7 separate regions of the Homo sapiens genome follow, and all the other regions are linked to region 7. The links are contacts of gene promoters, found by promoter capture Hi-C in blood cells and fetal thymus (Javierre and others, 2016). All regions are on one chromosome and are shown on one strand. Each heading gives the region's core, a stretch centred on a gene start or on the middle of the fragment in contact. The rest is flanking DNA. Distances are from core to core; before and after follow the strand shown. Region 1 overlaps MCF2L2 (MCF.2 cell line derived transforming sequence-like 2). Region 2 overlaps KLHL24 (kelch like family member 24). Region 3 overlaps MCF2L2 (MCF.2 cell line derived transforming sequence-like 2). Region 4 overlaps KLHL24 (kelch like family member 24). Region 5 overlaps KLHL24 (kelch like family member 24). Region 6 overlaps MCF2L2 (MCF.2 cell line derived transforming sequence-like 2). Region 7 holds the start of MCF2L2 (MCF.2 cell line derived transforming sequence-like 2).

Region 1 (2,700 bases), core at 159-2,658, 250 kb before region 7:
CCCAGGACACCCCTCGGGCTCCTCGGAGGAGGCCCTGGTTGTCCCCTTTCTGCCGCCGCCGAGGCTCCGGCTGCTTTCTGCGTAGCTGGGCAGGGCCCGGGCCCCCACACCGCCTCTCCCGGGAATGCGGGCGCTCTGGAGCCGAGGAGCGGGGGCGTCCGCAGGGAGGTCAGCTCTCCTGGGCGGAGGTCCTCGGGCGCAGCGCCCTCGCCTGGAAACCAGCCGTCGCCCCCGCAGGAGCCAGCCGGCCCGTGGACGCCCCAGCGCGCTCCTCCTCGGTGCTGCGGGTCGCCCTGCAATTCCGAGAAGAAAGTCAGAGACGCCGTGGCCCAAAGAGGCGCTTAGTCTTTCCTCGCTCACACTCACGTTTCCTCCTCATCGCGTTCTTCTTTTTCTCCCTGGCTGCTTTCTCCCCTCTCCAGGAAAGCAGATTTGGAGGAACAGGTTTCGTGACTGTCGTCCGACTGGAAAAGGCCCGCGAGCTGGAAGGGAGGGGACGGGTGCACCCTCAGAGTTATTGCTGGAGGCTGTGGCCAGACCGGGCAAGGTGGTGACTCCCGCTGGCAGGCTGAGGCCCACCCCAGCCCTCCCACCTGGGCCACGGGGCTCTCAGCGGGAGCCCCAGTTATGACCGGACACCAGCGCACCGCCAAGGAGACAGCCACGTGGGGACATGCTGGACTAGGAGGGTCAGAGCCAGTTTGAGGGTCTGGTGACCTCGGCTCCCTGGCTTAACCAGGTCCTTATGGGTGAGAATCCTGAGGAGGGGGAGAGGGATGGAGGCTAGGGACAGGAGGCAGGAGGAGCTGATGAATAGGAAGGAGGGAAGAAGATGAAAGAAACAAAAGGGAAGTAATTACACTCAGAGCACTGCTCTCCTTTTCCATGTCTTCTGCGCCTTCACAGTCTTCAAAGGTGTCCATGGAGCTAAACTCCCTGCTGGAGCAGCCTTAGGGAGAGAAAGGGAAGGATGGGGCCTCTGTGGGGTGGGAGGACATCCCCTCTGCCCATGGCAGGGTGTAGCAGGCAGTGCCTGTTGCAGGCACGGTCCTCCCCATCTCTAACTCCTGCTCTCCAAGGGCCTGCACTGCGCTGGGCTGTGAGGGGGTCTGTGATCTCCAGGCTGCTTTTCCAGCGCCGAGATGCCGTAATTCACCGAGAAGGCGCGTCCACATGCTGTTCATGGCCCTACCTCCCCGTTCCTCCAAGAAAACAGTCATTGTTTTTTGTGTTTGCCAGTCTTCTAACCACGCCTCCTTCCCTTCCTCCTCCCCTGTCTCTTTCTCACCCTCCCCTCCTTGCCTCCTTTTCTCTCCCCTAATTAATGTCCATTTCCCATCTCCCTGGCAGCCTCTGCCAAGTGTCACTGCTCCCCATAAGGGAAAATCAGAGGAACAAGCAAGTGCATCCATCCTGCCTCTCTCTGCAGTGAACTGATTAATTAATCCATCAGTCTTGTCTATGGCGCACATGTTACATCCCTGGGGCGGTGTTGGACACTGTGGGGAACAGCAGCCACTGCCAAATACTGAACAACTGCCCTGTGCCTGGTGGTATGTTAGGCATTTGTCAAAGTTTAAGCCTCACAACCCTGTAAGGGTCTCAGCCCCCTTTACAGTTGGGGAAACAGACAGCAATGGTCACTTGGCCAAGTCCTCTTGGCCTGTGGCAGGGCAGCTGTCTTCTCCAGCACTCCTGCTCTTTACCCTCGCTCTGAGTGAGATGGAGTCTCTGCCCCACATGGCTCACAAGCCAGGGTAGGGAGCAGAGCATCTGCAGAAAGGTCCCAACACAGGACAGCCCCAGACCGAGGGTCAGCTGAGTAGTCTACGCGGCGGGAGCCGTGCTAGGAAAGTGTCTGCTCAGGCGAGAATTCAGGGAGGTTTGGGCAGGACTTGAGGGGCAGACAGGACTGGAGAGGGAGGGCATTCTGGGCAGAGGCATGGCCAGAGGGCGGTAGGCGGCAGTGGAGGGAGCTGCAGTTATCTGGGTGAGCAGGCAGCACAAGTAGCGTCTCCTGGGCTGCTGCCCCAAGCCCCCAACAAGCCACGTTCTGGGCCCCAGGCCCTCCCCAGAGCAGATCAGTGGGGGCTGTGTGAGTAACATGGGGGCGGGGGGGCAGCTGGGCAGCACCTCCCTGGAGGCCCCTCTGAAATCCTGCCTGACTCTGGCAGGCTCCGAGGGGGCTGGACACCCTCCTCTCAGGTTGAAGCAAGTCCTGGTTGAGTTCCTAGTCCCAGGAGGTGGGAGGGGCAAGGGGTGGAGGGCAGAGGAGAAACTGCCTCAGGGATGTGCCCCCTGCCTTCATCCTCCAGACAGGACTTGGGAGCATCTAAGGAAACCCAAGACTCCTCTTTAGAGAAGTCATCCAGCCCTGGGGTCCCCTTATGCCAGGAGCAAGCAGTGAGAATGGAAGAATGATTGTCTTGCTGAAAGTTCTGTGATGGAGGGATAGAGGGACAGAGGGAGCCATGCCCTTGACCATCCCCTGCATGAATAGGAAGGGCTGTGTCTCCAGGGTCCATGGCCTCTGTGCCCCGGATGATGCCAGGGCTGCTAGGGACCATAGAGCCACCCACTGGGAGGCTGGCGGTTGGGCCTGGCTCAGGAGCCTTCGTCAGCCATAGGCAGCCACAGCCTGGGGTGGGCAGGGCTGGGAGGCGACACAGGAACTGAAAAACCTGACAAGCTCTAGCCCCT
Region 2 (2,754 bases), core at 137-2,636, 210 kb after region 7:
CTGGGCGTGGTGACTCACGCTTGTAATCCCAGCACTTTGGGAGGCCGGGCCAGGTGGATCACCAGGTCAGGAGTTCGAGACCAGCCTGGCCAACATAGTGAAACCCCCATCTCCACTAAAAACCAAACAAACAAACAAACCCAGAAAATATTAGCCTGGTGTGGTAGCACGCTCCTGTAATCCCAGCTACTCGGGAGGCTGAGGCAGGAGAATCACTTGAACCCGGGAGGTGGGGGTTGCAGTGAGCCAAGATTGTGCCACTGCACTCAATCCTGGGTGACAGAGCGAGACTCCATCTCAATAAATAAATAACCAAAACCATTTTTCTAACAGAAAACATAACTATATCATATATCTATAGGTGTTTTGATTATCAAATAAAACAATGCATTAAATACCTAAAAGAAACATGTTAGCAAGATAAAACCAAACAACAGTAAATTTACACATCAAGTCTAGTCAGAAGCATGAGTAGGCTCAATAGGGCAGCTTGGTATACCACGTGTGATGTCTGATGGTTAACAAGTTTTTTTCTTCCTTTAGGGTTGGGGAATATCAGTAGCCAGAAGTTTTAAGTCGAGGGAGAGAAACACTGGAGAAATTCATATTTTTTTTCCTGTGATTTAAGAGACAATAGTATTCTTTTTTAGTTAAAGAACCATATTGTTTAGTCTGACACATTGTTTAAGCTTTCCTAAATTTGTCATCAACAGCTATCTGTTTTGTTTCTCATCAAGCAAAGTCATATAGTATATTGCCCATTTGAGGTTCTAATAAATATGGGGTAATCCATAGTTGCTATCATTCTATCCAAAGAAACTCAAGGTTTTAGTTGGTTTCTGTTACCTTTTCTTTTTTTTCTTTTTTCTTTTTTCTTTTTTTTTTTTTTTTTGAGACAGAGTCTTGCTCTGTCGCCCAGGCTGGAGTGTGATGGTGCCATCTTGGCTCACTGCAACCTCCGCCTCCTGGGTTCAAGCATTTCCGCTGCCTCAGCCTCCTGAGTAGCTGGGATTACAGGTGCCCGCCACCACACCCGGCTAATTTTTTTGTATTTTTAGTAGAAACGGGGTTTCACTATGTTGGCCAGGCTGGTCTCGAACCCTTGACCTCGTGATCCGCCTGCCTCAGCCTCTCAAAGTGCTGGGACTGCAGGCGTGAGCCACCTCGGCCAGCCAGTTTCTGTTATCTTGTGGTGGGTAAATATGGTCTTGGTGGTTCCATTAAGAAACTGGAAATGTTGAAAATAGCTTGAAGGCTGGGCTTTAAACATTACATTTGTAAAACATGGTCCAGGAACCACTGCTGCAGAGTAATTCTTTAAACTGAAATTTTGATAGTGCAAGTTTATGATTTTTAAAAAGTCATCAAATAAATTAGCTTTTGAGACTATAGGGTGAAAATATCTGAAATGTATAAAAATTGCTTGGTTTTGTATAGTACCTTATTATATATGATTTTCTGGTTATTTTTTAAATAAAAGATGTACTGGCCGGGCACAGTGGCTCACGCCTGTAATCCCAGAACTTTGGGAGGTCGAGGCGGGTGGATCACAAGGTCAAGAGATCGAGGCCATCCTGGCCAACATGGTGAAACCCCGTCTCTACTAAAAATACATGGTGGCGCACACCTGTAGTCCCAGCTACATGGGAGGCTGAGGCAGGAGAATCGCTTGAACCCAGGAGGTGAAGGTTGCAGTGAGCCGAGATCATGCCACTGCACTCCAGCCTGGCAACAGAGTGAGACTGTCTCAAAAAAAAAAAAAAAAAAAAGATTTACTATATTGCAATTATTTTCTGACTTTCTTTCTTTTGAGTTACTATATATCTTTCAAGATAAACCTCTTGGTTAACCTTTCTTTTCATCTCCTGTGGTGTTCTTTCAAGGTTAAATTTGAGAAAATGGAGTAGCGTAGAACATAGTATGCAGCAGTTCTCTACTACAAGTTTTAGGGGCCATGCTAGTCAGGATGTTGTTGGTTCCTTTGTTTTCTGGTATTAGTTTTTAGAAGCCCCTCATTAATCCATACTATCTTTAAGGATGTTAGTAACCTCATCGTATAGAATTTCTGCATTCTAAAGGAAACATAAGCTTGTTTCAGTACACTCACGCTGTAGATTAATTCTGATATTACATATCTCCATCAGACTTTGTACCCTCTCTCTTCCATCCCTTACCCTTACCGATTAGGTTGGTATTACCTAAAAATCCATAGAAAATGTCCAGGTGAATTGCCTTATGCTTTCTACCCCATAAGGTATAATTCTAGACCAGATCGGTTATGAGAGGCTCTATTCCAGTCTGCACCTGCTAAGAATTTGAATCTATTTTAGTACCAATCTTGGAGTTCTTGTTTGGCTCTACTCTTAGCCAACCCCACAGAGTCTAAAATTGGATCTGAATCCAGTATTTGCCAGCCAGTGACAGACATAAACTAGGTTCTTTATAAATGTTTCATGAATTGACCTGCATCCCTGCATTGATTCAGGATCTTATTGTCCATTGGGAAGGAAGATTTACTTAGCTAGGAGTAACAATTCCCAAATTTGCCCTAGTTGCAATATTTTTTTACCAAGGGTACATACAAGTCAGGTTCACTTCTGAAAGTAAGGAAACACAGGATAGCATTCACTTGATGATCATAACACAGTCTGGGTATACATATGTGTTTGTGTGTATACATTTAAAAAAAAGGTCGTTTATATTTGGTTTTGGAATCAACTTTTGAATTTGTCTAAACTTGTTAAGAATTTACAA
Region 3 (2,700 bases), core at 159-2,658, 210 kb before region 7:
GGATTGACCTAACAAATTGTTCCCTTGACTTTCCTCAGGCGAAGAAAGAAGAATTATTACCAAGAAAATGATCCTTATACACACCCTAACCCTACTCTGCAGTTTATGCATATCCTCTTGAATCATGCATCAGTTGTCATCAGAGACACCTTGGAGTCCCAGGGGACAGTAACAGCATCATGGCTGGGATCACAGCAAACCCCATGGGGCTAAGTTTCTGAGATCCAGGCCCAAGAAATACCAGCGTGGGAAGTAAAAATAACTCATTTTTCGGACCTTAATAACTTTCATGGTTTGATTTATGACAAGGAAAGAAAAGTCATTTCCTCTACCAAGACCTCAATACATGGTATGTTCAAAACCAAATAAAAATGAAAAGAAAAAAAAAGAGAAGGAAAAAGTATAATATAATCACAAGTGACAAAAACGCAGAAGAGGGGGTCACAGAGATGTGATGTAAGAAAAACTTGGCCGGGCACGATGGCTCTCACCTGTAATCCCAGCACTTTGGGAGGCGGAGATGGGTGGATCACGAGGTCAGGAGTTCGAGACCAGCCTGACCAACATGGAGAAGCCCCGTCTCTACTAAAAATACAAAAAAAAAAAAAAATTAGCAAGGTGTGGTGGCAAGTGCCTGTAGTCCCAGCTACTCAGGAGGCTGGGACAGGAGAATCGCTTGAACCTGGCGGGCAGAGGTTGCAGTGAGCTGAGATCATGCCATTACACTCCAGCCTGGGCGACAGAGCAAGACTCTGTCTCAAAAACAAACAAACAAAAAGAAGAAGAACCCAACCTGCCATTGCTGGTTTGTGCTTTATTACCTCTGCTCATAGAAGCCATGAGCCATGGAGCGTGGGTGGCCTTTTTAAGCTGGAAAATTCCAGGAGACAGATGCTAGACTCCAAAAAGGAAAGGAAACACCTTGATTTTAGCCCATGAGACTGTGTTGAACTTCTGACCTTGGAACTTCAAAATAATAATAATAATGAATTTGTGCTGCTCTAAGCCACCAAGCTTATGGTAATTTATTATGACAGTGAAATAAAACAAACACATCTGAATAAAAATCTAGAGTACTTCAAAGTAAAAAACAAAACAAGTCGAATATTAACTATGCTCCAGTCTCAAAGAGATCATACAGTTATAGGGGATGTTTTGCCTGGAATGCCTGGGACCAGCCTGCTCCGGATTAACACTGACGCTGGAGCTCAACTCCCCAGCATTGGCCTCTAACTGCATCTCTTGGGTTTTCTTTAGACTATTTGGATTAATGCATGTACACTATATACTTTTGGGGCCTCTTCTGGGATCTGTGATATAAAATTGGGGCAAGAATATAGGACCTGTTTCCAAAATACTTTTCTTAGAGAAACTCTGAAACAAGAAGACAAATCTTTTACTATTTTAATAGTGCCATGAGTTAGAAAATAAATTGCTCCTCCAGGACTTTTCCTCTGCCCATATATGTTCTGGCCCTTGACTTTCTGGTTTGTCCAGACAGTGGGTCAGTCCCACATTCAGAACCCTGAGGAATAAATCCAAGATTCCTGAAGATGCCAAGGGACAGCTTGGAATCTTGTAGTGCGGGTTTACTGAGCAATTTAGGCGACTGTCCTCAGAGTCCAATTCCTTTACCATAGACGATCTCTCTGACTTTGCCAGAGCATTTCCTCACTGTGTAGTATTGCACCTGCCTTTTGTGTGAGATGCTCTAACACTACTATGGAACATACCGGACATTCAGTCACTGCTGCTAGGTCCACAGCCAACTCACAGGACTTGATCAAATCCTCTATCACTGCCAAAGCTTGTTGTAGTTCAGTTGAGAATGCTGAATCTTTGGTTCTCTTTGGCCCATCCTGTGGAAAACAAATGCCTTGTTGGAAATCAAAAGTATACCATCTGCAAAGTGAAGAAGGAAAACAGGACAGAGATGAGGAGCCAGGGATCCAGCCAACCCTGACTGAGAAGGGTGGATATTGATCTGTCTCCCTGCTCCCAAAGCATGGTGGCTAAAGATGCTTACTGATTTAGGTATACGGCATAGAGACAAGCAAAATCATCTACCTCTGTGCATTGTACTAGTGACGAATGAAGTTCATAAATCATGGAAATTATATTCCTGCTACATAAGAAACATATAGAATTCAGCTATATAGCTGAATTCTATATGTTTCTTATGTGTATATATATTATATAAATATTTATATAGTATATTAAATATTTATATATTAATATATAATTATATGTTTATATATTAATTATATATATTAAATATTTATATATTATATATTATATAAAATATAAGTATATATATTATATATATATATATATATATATATATATTTTTTTTTTTTTTTTTTTTTTTTTTTTTTTTTTTTGAGAGCGAGAGAGAGTTTCACTCTGTCACCCAGGCTGGAGTGCAGAGGCACGATCTCGGCTCGCTGCAACCTCTGCCTCCTGGATTCAAGCAATTCTCCTGTCTCAGCCTCCCGAGTAGCTGGGATTACAGGTGTGCGCCACCATGCCTGGCTAATTTTTGTATTTTTAGTAGAGACGGAGTTTCGCCATGTTGACCAGGCTGTTCTCAAACTCCTAACCTCAGGTGATCCACCCACCTTGGCCTCCTAAAGTGCTGGGATTACAGGCGTAAGCCACTGTGCCTGGCCAGAATTTAGCTTTTTTAAAGCATGGAAAAAC
Region 4 (2,700 bases), core at 37-2,536, 250 kb after region 7:
TTGTTTTCTCATTTTAGAATGATTCAGAGATTTCAGATAGACATTTTTTAAACTTTAATGCTTAGCTAGAATCTACATTCTGAGGAAAACTCTAAAAAACTTAAAAATTTTTAGGGAATTTTTATTTTTCAAATCATAATTTTAAAATGATAGATACCATTTTGTGATAACAACAATTCAGAAAACAATTTTCTATCCTCTTAGTTGAAAGAATGTAGGTACAGTTTGGATACTTGTACTTTAATTTTAGAGTAAACATCTGCATTATACTCTTATAGATAATAGAATTATTTAGTTAAGAAATTCTTTACAGTAAATGAGATAATGTGTGAAAAAGTATTTTGTAAATGCTGAGGATTCTACAAATGATAGTTGTTATTTTCATGTGTATTTGTAAGATCATGTCCATTTCATGAATATAGGACTTCACATAAAAAAAGACTTTCTCAAGACAACTTTATATTCTAGTATTTTTCTGTTGTAAAAAGTATTAACTATTTACTTTTATTTTGTTATACATTTATTTTAATATCCATGTGTTTATTATAGTAAATTTGAAATGAAATCCTGAAAAACAGAATTTTTTTAAACACAGACCTCACACCAATATTAATTTTTTCTCTACATAATTTAAAACTACATAAATTAAGTACTTAAAATTTATATTGAAGGCCACCAAGAACTTAGGTTGAATCTTAGAAAATTTAAATAACTATTTTTAAAGTTACCCAACTTAATATTTTAATTTTTTAATATTTATCTTCCTTTACTAATTCTTGATAAATAATAGCATTAGACTTGATAAAATAAAAAAGAATTTTAGAGTAGAATTAATATATCAAAAGGGGTATATCAACCAAATTGGTGTCAGATTGTATTCATTCTCTCATCACATAAAGATTTTTCTTTTGATAGGTGATGCTCATATGAACCTTTGGTTTAGAATCTATATATGTACATGTGTATGTATGTAGATAGTATGGTTGTATACACACATATATACCAAACACCATGAATTTTAGCAGTCTGTGATGATCAGCAAAAAAGCACATAAAGTAAAAATTAGTTGACCATGCTAAATTCAATTCTGGAATTTTTTTTTATTTGGGCATTTCTAGAACTTTTTACATTTGAAAGTACATGATGAGTATTAGTAACGATGACTTATGTATAATCAGAATCTTTATGACAATTTAGTTTTACAAGGTCAGAAGAGATGAGTTTGCTAAACCCAGCTGTGATACCTCAGTTGGAAAGGGAATTCAAAGGTATGCTTTGTAGAACAGAAAAGTATAGTTTTTTTTTCATGAACTTTAATCATTTTCTGTTTTTCCTCTATGTGAGTCAGCTACAAAAGTGGTCTAATTTTTACAACAGTAGAACTTCCTCCTTTTCTACTGTAATCTTCCCACTGACTTTACTGCACAGGTATGAAATACTAGTGTATTGGATCTTCAGTAACCTTTTTATTTCCTAGATGATTGAAATATAGGTATTTACTCCATTTAAACCAGGTGATAAGATGATGTAAATACTCAGGGAGGGTATTAACTTGTTACTTTTGCTCGTTTGGGGTGTAAAGTGCCATGACTGAATAATCTTCAATTCATGATTCTAGAGTAAGTTTAATTTGGAAAAAGGGGCTTCACACATGGTGGTGGTTGAACATTGATTCTTTTATACTTAAAAAGATGAAAATGTTTTGTGGACTGATACATTTTATCTTACTGAATATGAATTGTTTATGTATCTCTACTGTCAAATAGCCTTTTTGAAACTCAGGAAAGACAAAGGTTCAATTACACCACTTTTGTCAATAAGCAAACCAGGTATTTTTTTTTTCTCCTGTTGTCTGGATATGGCAATAGATTTTTTAAATTGCTGTGAGAACCCATATATGAAAAGAGAGGAGTTGAATTGTGTGTGCCTTTTATGTCTTGAGATTTATATGTGGAAAAGACGACATCTACTTCAAACTGTATTTTTTTCGTTTTTTTTTTTTTTTGGGGAAGGGGGGAGAACGGGGTCTTGCTCTGTCGCCCAGGCTGGAGTGCAGTGGCGCGATCTCAGCTGACTGCAACCTCCACCTCCCGGGTTCAAGGGATTCTGCCTCAGCCTCCCGAGTAGCTGAGACCACAGGTGCGTGCCACCACACCCGGCTAATTTTTTTGTATTTTTAGTAGAGACGGGGTTTAGTAGAGACGGATCACTCCTGACCACGTGATCCGCCCACCTCGGCCTCCCAAAGTGCTGGGATTACAGGCGTGAGCCACCACCCCCGGCCTGTATTTTCAGAGAGGAGAGCTTGGTGTTTTTGTGGTGCCAAGTGGTAAGATAATGTCTCTTTGAGGCTTCCTATGGACTGCCTTTATTTTAGTAAACTCAAGACACCAGTTAACCTCAACAGAGTTTTGGCCTTATTAGAATTTGTTGTGCATCTTATTGAAAGCCAGGTTTACATCACCTCACCCCATTATTCTTTTTAGTTAAATAAATTTACCATGCCAAGTAACCAGAATGGAGCAAATTGGTTGATCTTTAAGGCAGTAGGTTTGACTAGCTAGCTATCATTATTGTCACATCTAATGCTAGGCACCAGAAACCATTTGAGCCAGGAGTGTGAATGAATAATTCCAGAGACACTTTAGACATTTTTTAATGTTTTATATGAACATTTTACATTTGTGTGATTGCCTTAGA
Region 5 (2,829 bases), core at 178-2,677, 230 kb after region 7:
GCTGTTTTCTCTTTCTGTTCCAAAGTACAAAAACAGATAACATATGTTTATTGGGCTAAGAAGTCTTGAAAAAGGCAAGCGAGTTTAAGCAAAGGGAAAGTATAAACCAAGTAATGTACAATAAGGAAAGGATAAAACAAAATCCTATGATATATAATCATTACTCTGGATTTTATATTAAGACAGAAGTGATTTAACTTCAGTGACTAGCAGTGTTTGTTTTGATTGATTAATAAATAAGACTTTGAGGAATATCACCTTTTTTGAGGATTTGTCTTAGATTTTAAGTGTGTTTTAGGAAATACTTATATGGAAAGAATGATAGATAAGTCAGTAGTTATACTACTAAAGTATCTGGTGCTGTGCTCTCTTTATTTTTAATACTTTTATTTTGGAATTACTTGGAAAATAGTAAATATTACTGATAATATTTAGGTCCTTCTGTTAATGTTTTACTAAATACTAGGTAAAGGTTATATAATTTCCTGGATTCCTAAAAGTACTTTTGTTTGCATGTATAGAGAAAATTCTTTTCTCCCATATTTATTTCTGATTTTATAACGGAAAAAGTATGCCTGGCATAGAATAGGTACGTGATTTGGTTAGTTGACATAGGTCTGAGTAAATGTAGCTAGAACAGCTCTGTTAAAAGAGACACGCCAATATTGCTTGTTTTTTCCTACTGTAATTGTGTAACAGCACACTGACTAAAATTACAAATCAGTGTCCTGATGTGGGTTTTTTTTTCCCCTCTATAAGTAAGAGAAGAAGGATTGTTGGCATTTTTCTTTGTGAGACTTAACTTGTAGCAACCATAAAATGTAACTATAAAACATTTTCATTTAGATTATATTTGTGAAAAATATAAAAGCTAAAGAATTTTAAAATTCCTAAACTATCAATTGAATTTTATGAACAAAAAATTGTGGATAAGCTTTTGGTTATTCCTGTCTCTATTTTAAATCTAAAAAATGAGAGAAGCCAGTGATTAACAGAAACATTAGAATTCTTTTAGTGGTGTTAAATGCTGTTTTTTGCATTCTAAAAATAGCTCAGGCTCATTATTGGTTTGGAAATTTGTAATGATAGAAATGGGGGGAGCCAAACAATTCAGAGACAACTATCTTTAGCATTTTGGTATATTCTTTCCAGATACATTTTTTAGATAGTATTGAATATGCCTAATGTACAGTTTTTCATCTTGCTTTTCTCCTTTAACATTCTTGTTATAAACTGTTAGCCTTTTTAGTGATTGCCCAACATTTTGAGTTGTATTACCTTAATTTACTTGACTTTGTATTTTAAAAACTAATTTCTGAACAAGTACATATACATATTCCTTTAAAGGGTGCTTGGATTATACTATGAATTAGTTTTTTAGAACTAGCAAGCTGATGAAAGAGCACCATTTTCCTACAGTTAGAAAAAAATGCATTATCTTACCTTGTGTGGTTATGCGTATCTGAATCACTGCAAAACTGCATTTGAAAGTCATCCTTAATATTGCCAGGATTCTGATTGGGTTAGATAGGATCTTTGGACTTTTTTACAATTTTCAGGTCAAAACCAATAGAAAAAAATAGCAACAGAAATTTTCTGTGGAATAATGATGTCACTAGCTCCCCTATAAACGTTCTCAAAGTAAGTAATTTCCAGGCTGTACCGTTTGGCACATGCACAGAGAAGAAACTTAACTGTTTATAATAGTGCGTGGTTTGTTTTTAGAGTTTTAAGAAAAAATCTGGAGTATATTTTAATGTAATATTATTATATTATTTATGTACGCTAATAATTATTATTTTAGGTCCACTGGCTATTCTGAGGTGATAGTTGTCGTTGGAGGATGTGAGCGAGTTGGAGGATTTAATCTTCCATACACTGAGTGCTACGATCCTGTAACAGGAGAATGGAAGTCTTTGGCTAAGCTTCCAGAATTTACCAAATCAGAGTATGCAGTCTGTGCTCTAAGGAATGACATTCTTGTTTCAGGTAAATATAGAATTATTACAGTAGCTACTTTTAATTTGGACACAGCTTCATTATTTTAAACATCAACAGTGTCTTAAAATAGTGAAATGTGAATACTCCCACTTGAGGAAGATCAGTTTACAACAAATAAAACCAAGAATGACTTTTTGCTCTTAAAAACAGGTACAAGGCCAGGCGCGGTGGCTCACGCCTGTAATCCCAGCACTTTGGGAGGCCGAGGCAAGCAGATCACCGGGTCAGGAGATCGAGACCATCCTGGCCAACATGGTGAAACCCCATCTCTACTAAAAAATACAAAAATTAGCCAGGTGTGGTAGTGGGCAACTGTAGTCCCAGCTACTCAGGAGGCTGAGGCAGGAGAATCACTTGAACTCGGGAGGCGGAGATTGCAGTAAGCCGAGATCGCGCCACTGCACTCCAGCCTGGTGACAAAGCAAGACTCCGCCTCAAAAACAAAAAACAAACAAAAAGCAACAACAAAAAAAACACAGGTACAAGATGACATGGAATGATTTACAAAAGATCCACCAGAAGATACCTTTAATCATGTCATATTTTAAATGCTCTCAAATGCATGTAGAATATGCTGTAATTTTTTAAACTTTACCTCTTTGCAAGTCAGAAGTACTCATAGAATTAAGCATTTCTAATTCACCCATGTTTTCTGAAATTCTCCGCAAAGTTTATGAAATAAGATTTGCTTTAAAATTCTTAACTTGAACTTCTTTATGATTGTGATATGTTACCTTTAAAATTAGAAAATAAAATGACAGACTTGTACAAAGTATAACTATAGTATCTATGATGGGAAGTCTGTTAATTGGTAAAATAATTTCACCA
Region 6 (2,700 bases), core at 94-2,593, 230 kb before region 7:
TCCCGCTCACTCACCATCCACTGTGGGCCCTCTCTAAATTCTTAAAGCCCTTGCCATTTGCATCACTCACAGAGACATTTCATCAGAGCCTACTTGGTGCACCAGGCTCAGGAGACTCAGTTCTGCTGCGGATAAGTTATGTAAAATTGACCCTCTGCTTGCACATCTGTAAAAGGAAGGGGCTGGCACAACACCTCTGGGCCTTTCAGTTCAGTAGTGTTTTCTTTTTATCTAAACCACGTGCTGGGTCCTGGTTTTGCTTCTTATCTAGATTTTTGCATTCCTGTCACAACCTATAAAGCACAGTTCAGGCCTTAAGGAGGGCTTGAGAAATCTCTTTCCGAATTGTCAACTGAATAAGTGTCATATCTTCATAACAAACTTGTCTTTTTTTGCAGGGCCAGGAAGGCAGCAGGGGAGTCAGTTAAAATATAAATTTTAGATTAAGCTTAATATTGTTAAGAAGTCAATTCTCACCAAATTGTTCTAGAGATTTTACATAATCCTAATCAAAATCTCAATAAGGTTTTTTGAGAAGTTGGCAAGCAGATTCTAAAATATATATAGAAGTATAAAGGACACAGAATAATCAAAACAACTTTAAAAAGGAAGAACAAAATTATAGGACTCTAACTACCTCATTTTAAGACTTATTAGAAAGCAGCAGTAACCAAGATAGTGAGGGACTGATGTCAAGGTAGACAAATAGATCAATGGAAAAGAATCAGGCATCCAGAAATAGATGCACTTACATAAATCATCAATTGGAGAAAGAATAGTGTTTTTAACAACTGGCAATGGAAAAACTAGAACATCAGTATGCAAAGGACTGAACTTTGATCCATACCTCACACCACATACAAATCAAAAACAGAAACAAACAAACAAACAAACAAATACTCAAAATGGATCAGAGACCTAAATGTAAAACTATAAAACTTCTGGAAGAAAACACAGGGAGAAAATCTTTATGGCTTTTAGATAACGATTTCTTAGGCAGGATACCGAAAACATGATACATACAGTTTTTAAAATTAAATATTATAAGAATTAAAGTCTTTTGCTCTTCAAAAGTCACTCTTAAGAGAAAAAGATGCCACACACTAGAAGAAAATATTTACAAAGCATTAAAAGGACATATATCTAGGATATACATAAAAACTCTCAAAAGTCAATAATAAGAAAACAATGAGCAAAAGATTTGAACAGACACTTCACCAAAGAAGAGATAAAGATGGCAAAGAAGCACATAAAGAGATGCTCAACCATTAGTTACTAGGGAAAAGCAAATTAAAACCTAATGACATACCACTATGCCCCTATTAGAAATCTGAAAATTTAAAAGACTGACAATACCAAGTATTGGTGAGGACATGGCACAAGTGGAACTCTCATACATTACTATGGGAATGGAAGATACTATAATCACTTTGGAAACTATTTAGAAATTTCCTAAAAAATTAAACATACACCTACCATATGGCCTAACCATTACACTCTTAGGTATTTACCCAAGAGAAATGAAAACACATGTCCACACAAAGACTTGTACTTGCATGTTCATAGCAGCATTATTCAAAATAGCCCCAAAGCAGAAACAAATCGGATGTTCATTAACAAGTAAATGGATAAAGAAAACGGGGTCTAGCCAAACAATGAAATACTACTCAGCAACAACCAAAATATGTACTATTGTTTACAAAATCCAAATAGATGAATCTCAGAATAATTATGCAGAGGAGAGAAGCCAGACCAAAAAAAAAAGTACATAGTGTATTATCTCTTATGAAATTCTAGAAAATGCAAACTAACCTATAGTGACAGAAAGGAGATTGGTGGTCACCTGGGGTGGGTGAGGGAGGGGCAGGAGAAAGGGAATGCAAAGCAGTGTGAACAAACCTTTGGCGGTGATAGGCATGTTCATTATCCTTACTGTGGTGATGCCTTACAGATGTATACAGATGTCAAAACTTATCAGATTGTACACTTTAAATATGTGTGGTTTATCGTGTCATTATACCTCAGTAAAGGAGTTTTAAAAATTGTAGTAAAAGGTCTCTACCTAGAAACCTTAATAAGCTAAAATGTATGTCCCCAGGACTAACCCTAGCTATTCTATAGTTCTGGGGTGGAACCTAGAAATCTGCATTTGTAGCAAGCCCTTCAAATAATTTGAATGCAGGTGGTCCTTAAACCACCCTTTGAGAAACACTGACCTAGTGAGTAAGGATTTCTAAACAAGCTTGTGACTAGAATGTTGTTTCTGCAGGGAACAAGTGACTTTTTCTACTAGAGTTGCCATATCATTCTGTGTTAAGCCTCTAGGACACTCCTACTCAATTACCATGACATATATTTAACATAATATTAATAGTTGTAAAACAAAAGTAAACCATAGTTTTTTTCCCATCTTATCTGTATACAAAGTAAAATCAATGACATAATATTGTTACTAGTTCCTGGCAGTTACCTACAGTTTAAATCAAGAACTTATGTTGCTTGGTTTTTGTGACAGAAAACTGATGTGGTGGCTTTCCAGTTACACTGCTTGGTTTACCTTTTCCCTTATCTTATGATGCACACCCAGCTTTGCACGTTCCTGAGCAGCTGATGATCATAGAAGACCTAGAAAAAGTGTGAGCCAGTTGCATTCCTGCTATCTCTAAAGAAAAAAGTTATCTTTTCATTTTTATGTGATTT
Region 7 (2,754 bases), core at 239-2,738:
GAATGTGTGTCTTTACTGAGGGAGGTCCAGGGAAGGCCAAGGGGAAGAAAGTGCTAAGAAAAAACTGACTGGGAACTGTCTCAATGTCCTCTTGCCCTTACTTAGTCTGTGGGGCCTGACGTTCCATCACAACCCTTATTTCAGGAGCAAGCAATGCATGTTTTGCTCCTCTTTTCAACTCAGGGAAGAAGATTAAAATTGCTCAGTCTCCTTGGCTTGCAGAGATTTCTCGCGGGGATCATCAGGGGTGTGCTTAACCCTCCAGGCAGCACAGTAAAACAGGCCTAGCGGCCGAGCTGCGCAGGGGCGCTCCCATGTAACCTGCCTCTCCCTGCACTTTCTTATAAACAAGCCTTCAGTGGCGTGGCAATCATTTCTGCTGAAAAGCACTGGCATTCGTTCCTCTTATGCCCTCTCCTTTCTCACTATCCCCAAAACCAGAACATAACTTCCCACCCACCCTACTCCCGTCAGAAGCAGCTAACGGATGGTAACAGCCCAGCAGCCCTCGGTTTGGAGCTCAACGGACTCGGCAACCACCTGGTGAAGGCACCAGCCTCGGCCCCCCGACCCCCACCAGCGGCGCGCCCCAGGGATGCCCCCCGCTGGGCACCGCAGGCAGGACCCAGAGCAGCGAGGCCCAGATGCCGGGCAACCCCCCAGGAAGCGCGCTGCCCCGGGGCAGCGGGTGAGGCCAGGAGCCAGATGAAGCCCAGAGACCATCCTCACCCGCCATTAATAAAACGCAGGAAAAATTAAAGCTTCGTTTACCGACATGAGTGATCACTGTGGCCAGTCGCCGGGTGAGCTCCTGGGGAGGCATCTCTTCTTTTAAGCAAGACAGCATTTCACTGAAAAACCATTCCGTATAAATAAAGCCAAACAAAACTGTTTCTACCGCTGCGGTGGATGATTTTTTAAAGGCATCTCCGCCCAAGGATGCTCTGCCCTCGCCCTCTTCCTGGCTCTCCAGGCAAGAAACGAGAGTCCCTCGCAGCCTAGGCCAGCTCTCCCTCGCCACGCCCCGCGGGGGCTCCCGTGACAGACCAAGTCTGGCGCTTTCCCAGCGTCGCAGCTGGACCGAGAGAGGAGCGGCCGTTCTGCAAAAGGAAGCAAGTCGCCAATCTCGCCGGAACCGCGCCCCGGCTCCTCCGGCCGGGCGAGCTCCGGGGCTTCCAGAATCGCGGTCCCGGCCGCCAGGTTTCCGGCGCCGCCTCCAGGGACTGTAGAGTGAGGGATGCTCCGCCAGGTGCAGGGGAGGCGGCAGGTGGCCGTGGCTTCTCTGCGCCGCCGGCCCCACGCCCCAGCGCCCACCTCGTCCAGCCCACGGGTGGCGCCCGGGGCTCTCGGGGAGGCACGCACGCTCCCAAGCGCCGCTCGTTTTGGGGTCGGGAACGCTGCGCACCTTTCCCTGCGGGGAGCCCGCGCTCCACCCCCGGAGTGGAGCTCCGGTCCTTACTCGGAACCGTGGGGCGGGGAGACAGTGACTGAGGCGCTCCAGTCGCACCGGGGTCCGGATCATCAGACGCGCGCCGGCCAGGTCTCCGCCCCTCCTTCTTCCGCGCCGGGTGTCTGCGGAGGAGCCGCGGAGAGAAGGGGGCTGGCCCGGAGAGCTGCCGCCATCCGGCAGGACCCGGAGCGGGAGGCTGGGTGAGGCGCCGCTGCTTGCCCCACCTCCTGACCCCGGGGGCGGCTGGCGTGTGTTTTCCCCCACTTGGGGTTGTTCCACGCAGTTCTTGACCTCCGCTGGCCACACCTGCACTGGGAGCCCGGCGCCCGGGCTGCGCTCCGACAAGGCTGAGCACGCGTGGGCGCGCTCACCCCCTATGTGGGCGTTTTCCTTCGTGCAGCTGCGCCCTTGCCTCTGCTCCGTCTGTCACCTGTCAGGCACGCCAGTGCTACCTTCTGGAGGGGCTGTGGCACATCCTCCATGCTGGTCCTCCTCCCCATCAGCCCATTATCCCGTGGTTTCCCTAGTTGGGCCCAGACACTTTCTGACTGGCAGCAAAAGACTAACCCCAGTTCAGCAGAGCGCTACGGGAAACGCCTGAGCAAATGCGAATTCGGTCAGGTTGTCCCCCAATCCTTTCTACAGCGGGAGTCCCTGAATACTCAGCAGGCGGAATGGCGGGACCACCCAGGCGGATGTTCTCAGCCATCTCTTTCCTCTTCGATATGTAAAAAGCCAAGCCGCAAACACCCTGGATCCAAATTCTAGGAGTAGCCACCCATCACAGGGGGCTGAGGGTATTTTTTTAATGCTTTCTCTTTTCTTCTTTTTTTTGGAGACTGAGTCTGGCTCTGTCGCCCAGGCTGGAGTGCAATGGCGCGATCTCAGCTCACTGCAAGCTCCGCCTCCCGGGTTCACGCCATTCTCCTGCCTCAGCCTCCCGAGTAGCTGGGACTACAGGCGCCCGCCACCACGCCCGGCTAATTTTTTGTATTTTTTAGTAGAGATGGGGTTTGTTTCACCGTGTTAGCCAAGGATGGTCTCGATCTCCTGACCTCGTGATCCGCCCACCTTGGCCTCCCAAAGTGCTGGGATTACAGGCGTGAGCCACCGCGCCCAGCCCTTTTTAATGCTTTCTCTAACAATTGTGGGCTGTGATTGAGAAGCGAGGTCAGTTCACCTGTGTCATGAGATTTGTGGAGAGGTTCTTCCCCCTGTGAAGTTTGGGCACTTTGCACTCTGCCTGCAAAACAGAGCAAGGATTTTCTTTTTCTTTTCTTTCTTTTTTTTTTTTTTCGTTTTTA

What was found. Contacts are between HindIII fragments. The CHiCAGO score rates a contact against its expected background, and 5 or more counts as called.
Region 1: a contact is called between a fragment that was not itself captured here and the fragment with the promoter of MCF2L2 in region 7, in 7 of 17 cell types (erythroblasts, megakaryocytes, M2 macrophages and 4 more). The highest score is 9.3, in erythroblasts.
Region 2: a fragment that was not itself captured here is called in contact with the fragment with the promoter of MCF2L2 in region 7 in 2 of 17 cell types (M1 macrophages and M2 macrophages); the score reaches 6.4 in M1 macrophages.
Region 3: a contact is called between a fragment that was not itself captured here and the fragment with the promoter of MCF2L2 in region 7, in 1 of 17 cell types (M1 macrophages). The highest score is 5.1, in M1 macrophages.
Region 4: a contact is called between a fragment that was not itself captured here and the fragment with the promoter of MCF2L2 in region 7, in 2 of 17 cell types (M2 macrophages and M1 macrophages). The highest score is 5.7, in M2 macrophages.
Region 5: a contact is called between a fragment that was not itself captured here and the fragment with the promoter of MCF2L2 in region 7, in 1 of 17 cell types (M1 macrophages). The highest score is 5.1, in M1 macrophages.
Region 6: a contact is called between a fragment that was not itself captured here and the fragment with the promoter of MCF2L2 in region 7, in 7 of 17 cell types (M1 macrophages, M2 macrophages, endothelial precursors and 4 more). The highest score is 11.6, in M1 macrophages.

Annotation. Positions count from the first base shown.
Region 1 is chr3:183,179,211-183,181,910 of GRCh38, forward strand. It overlaps MCF2L2 (MCF.2 cell line derived transforming sequence-like 2), which reads right to left. Exons shown (of 30, transcript NM_015078.4): 28 at 861-949; 29 at 367-482; 30 at 1-293. The coding sequence ends at 170. Among named protein-coding and RNA genes, the nearest start is that of LAMP3, 18 kb to the left of the region's middle. RefSeq lists a silencer at 51-140. The HindIII fragment of the contact is 8,037 bases long and covers 1-2,700 here.
Region 2 is chr3:183,639,726-183,642,479 of GRCh38, forward strand. All of the region lies in intron 1 of KLHL24 (kelch like family member 24), which reads left to right. Among named protein-coding and RNA genes, the nearest start is that of KLHL24, 5.5 kb to the left of the region's middle. The HindIII fragment of the contact is 1,399 bases long and covers 688-2,086 here.
Region 3 is chr3:183,214,236-183,216,935 of GRCh38, forward strand. MCF2L2 (MCF.2 cell line derived transforming sequence-like 2) reads right to left here. Exons shown (of 30, transcript NM_015078.4): 22 at 1,734-1,859. Among named protein-coding and RNA genes, the nearest start is that of B3GNT5, 38 kb to the right of the region's middle. The HindIII fragment of the contact is 793 bases long and covers 1,013-1,805 here.
Region 4 is chr3:183,680,948-183,683,647 of GRCh38, forward strand. KLHL24 (kelch like family member 24) reads left to right here. Exons shown (of 8, transcript NM_017644.3): 8 at 1-2,700. Among named protein-coding and RNA genes, the nearest start is that of YEATS2, 15 kb to the right of the region's middle. The HindIII fragment of the contact is 3,164 bases long and covers 1-2,700 here.
Region 5 is chr3:183,661,654-183,664,482 of GRCh38, forward strand. It overlaps KLHL24 (kelch like family member 24), which reads left to right. Exons shown (of 8, transcript NM_017644.3): 4 at 1,805-1,989. Among named protein-coding and RNA genes, the nearest start is that of KLHL24, 27 kb to the left of the region's middle. The HindIII fragment of the contact is 991 bases long and covers 933-1,923 here.
Region 6 is chr3:183,196,576-183,199,275 of GRCh38, forward strand. All of the region lies in intron 25 of MCF2L2 (MCF.2 cell line derived transforming sequence-like 2), which reads right to left. Among named protein-coding and RNA genes, the nearest start is that of LAMP3, 35 kb to the left of the region's middle. The HindIII fragment of the contact is 1,794 bases long and covers 447-2,240 here.
Region 7 is chr3:183,427,131-183,429,884 of GRCh38, forward strand. It overlaps MCF2L2 (MCF.2 cell line derived transforming sequence-like 2), which reads right to left and starts at 1,489. Exons shown (of 30, transcript NM_015078.4): 1 at 772-1,489. The coding sequence starts at 847. RefSeq lists a silencer at 1,239-1,318. The HindIII fragment of the contact is 2,747 bases long and covers 760-2,754 here.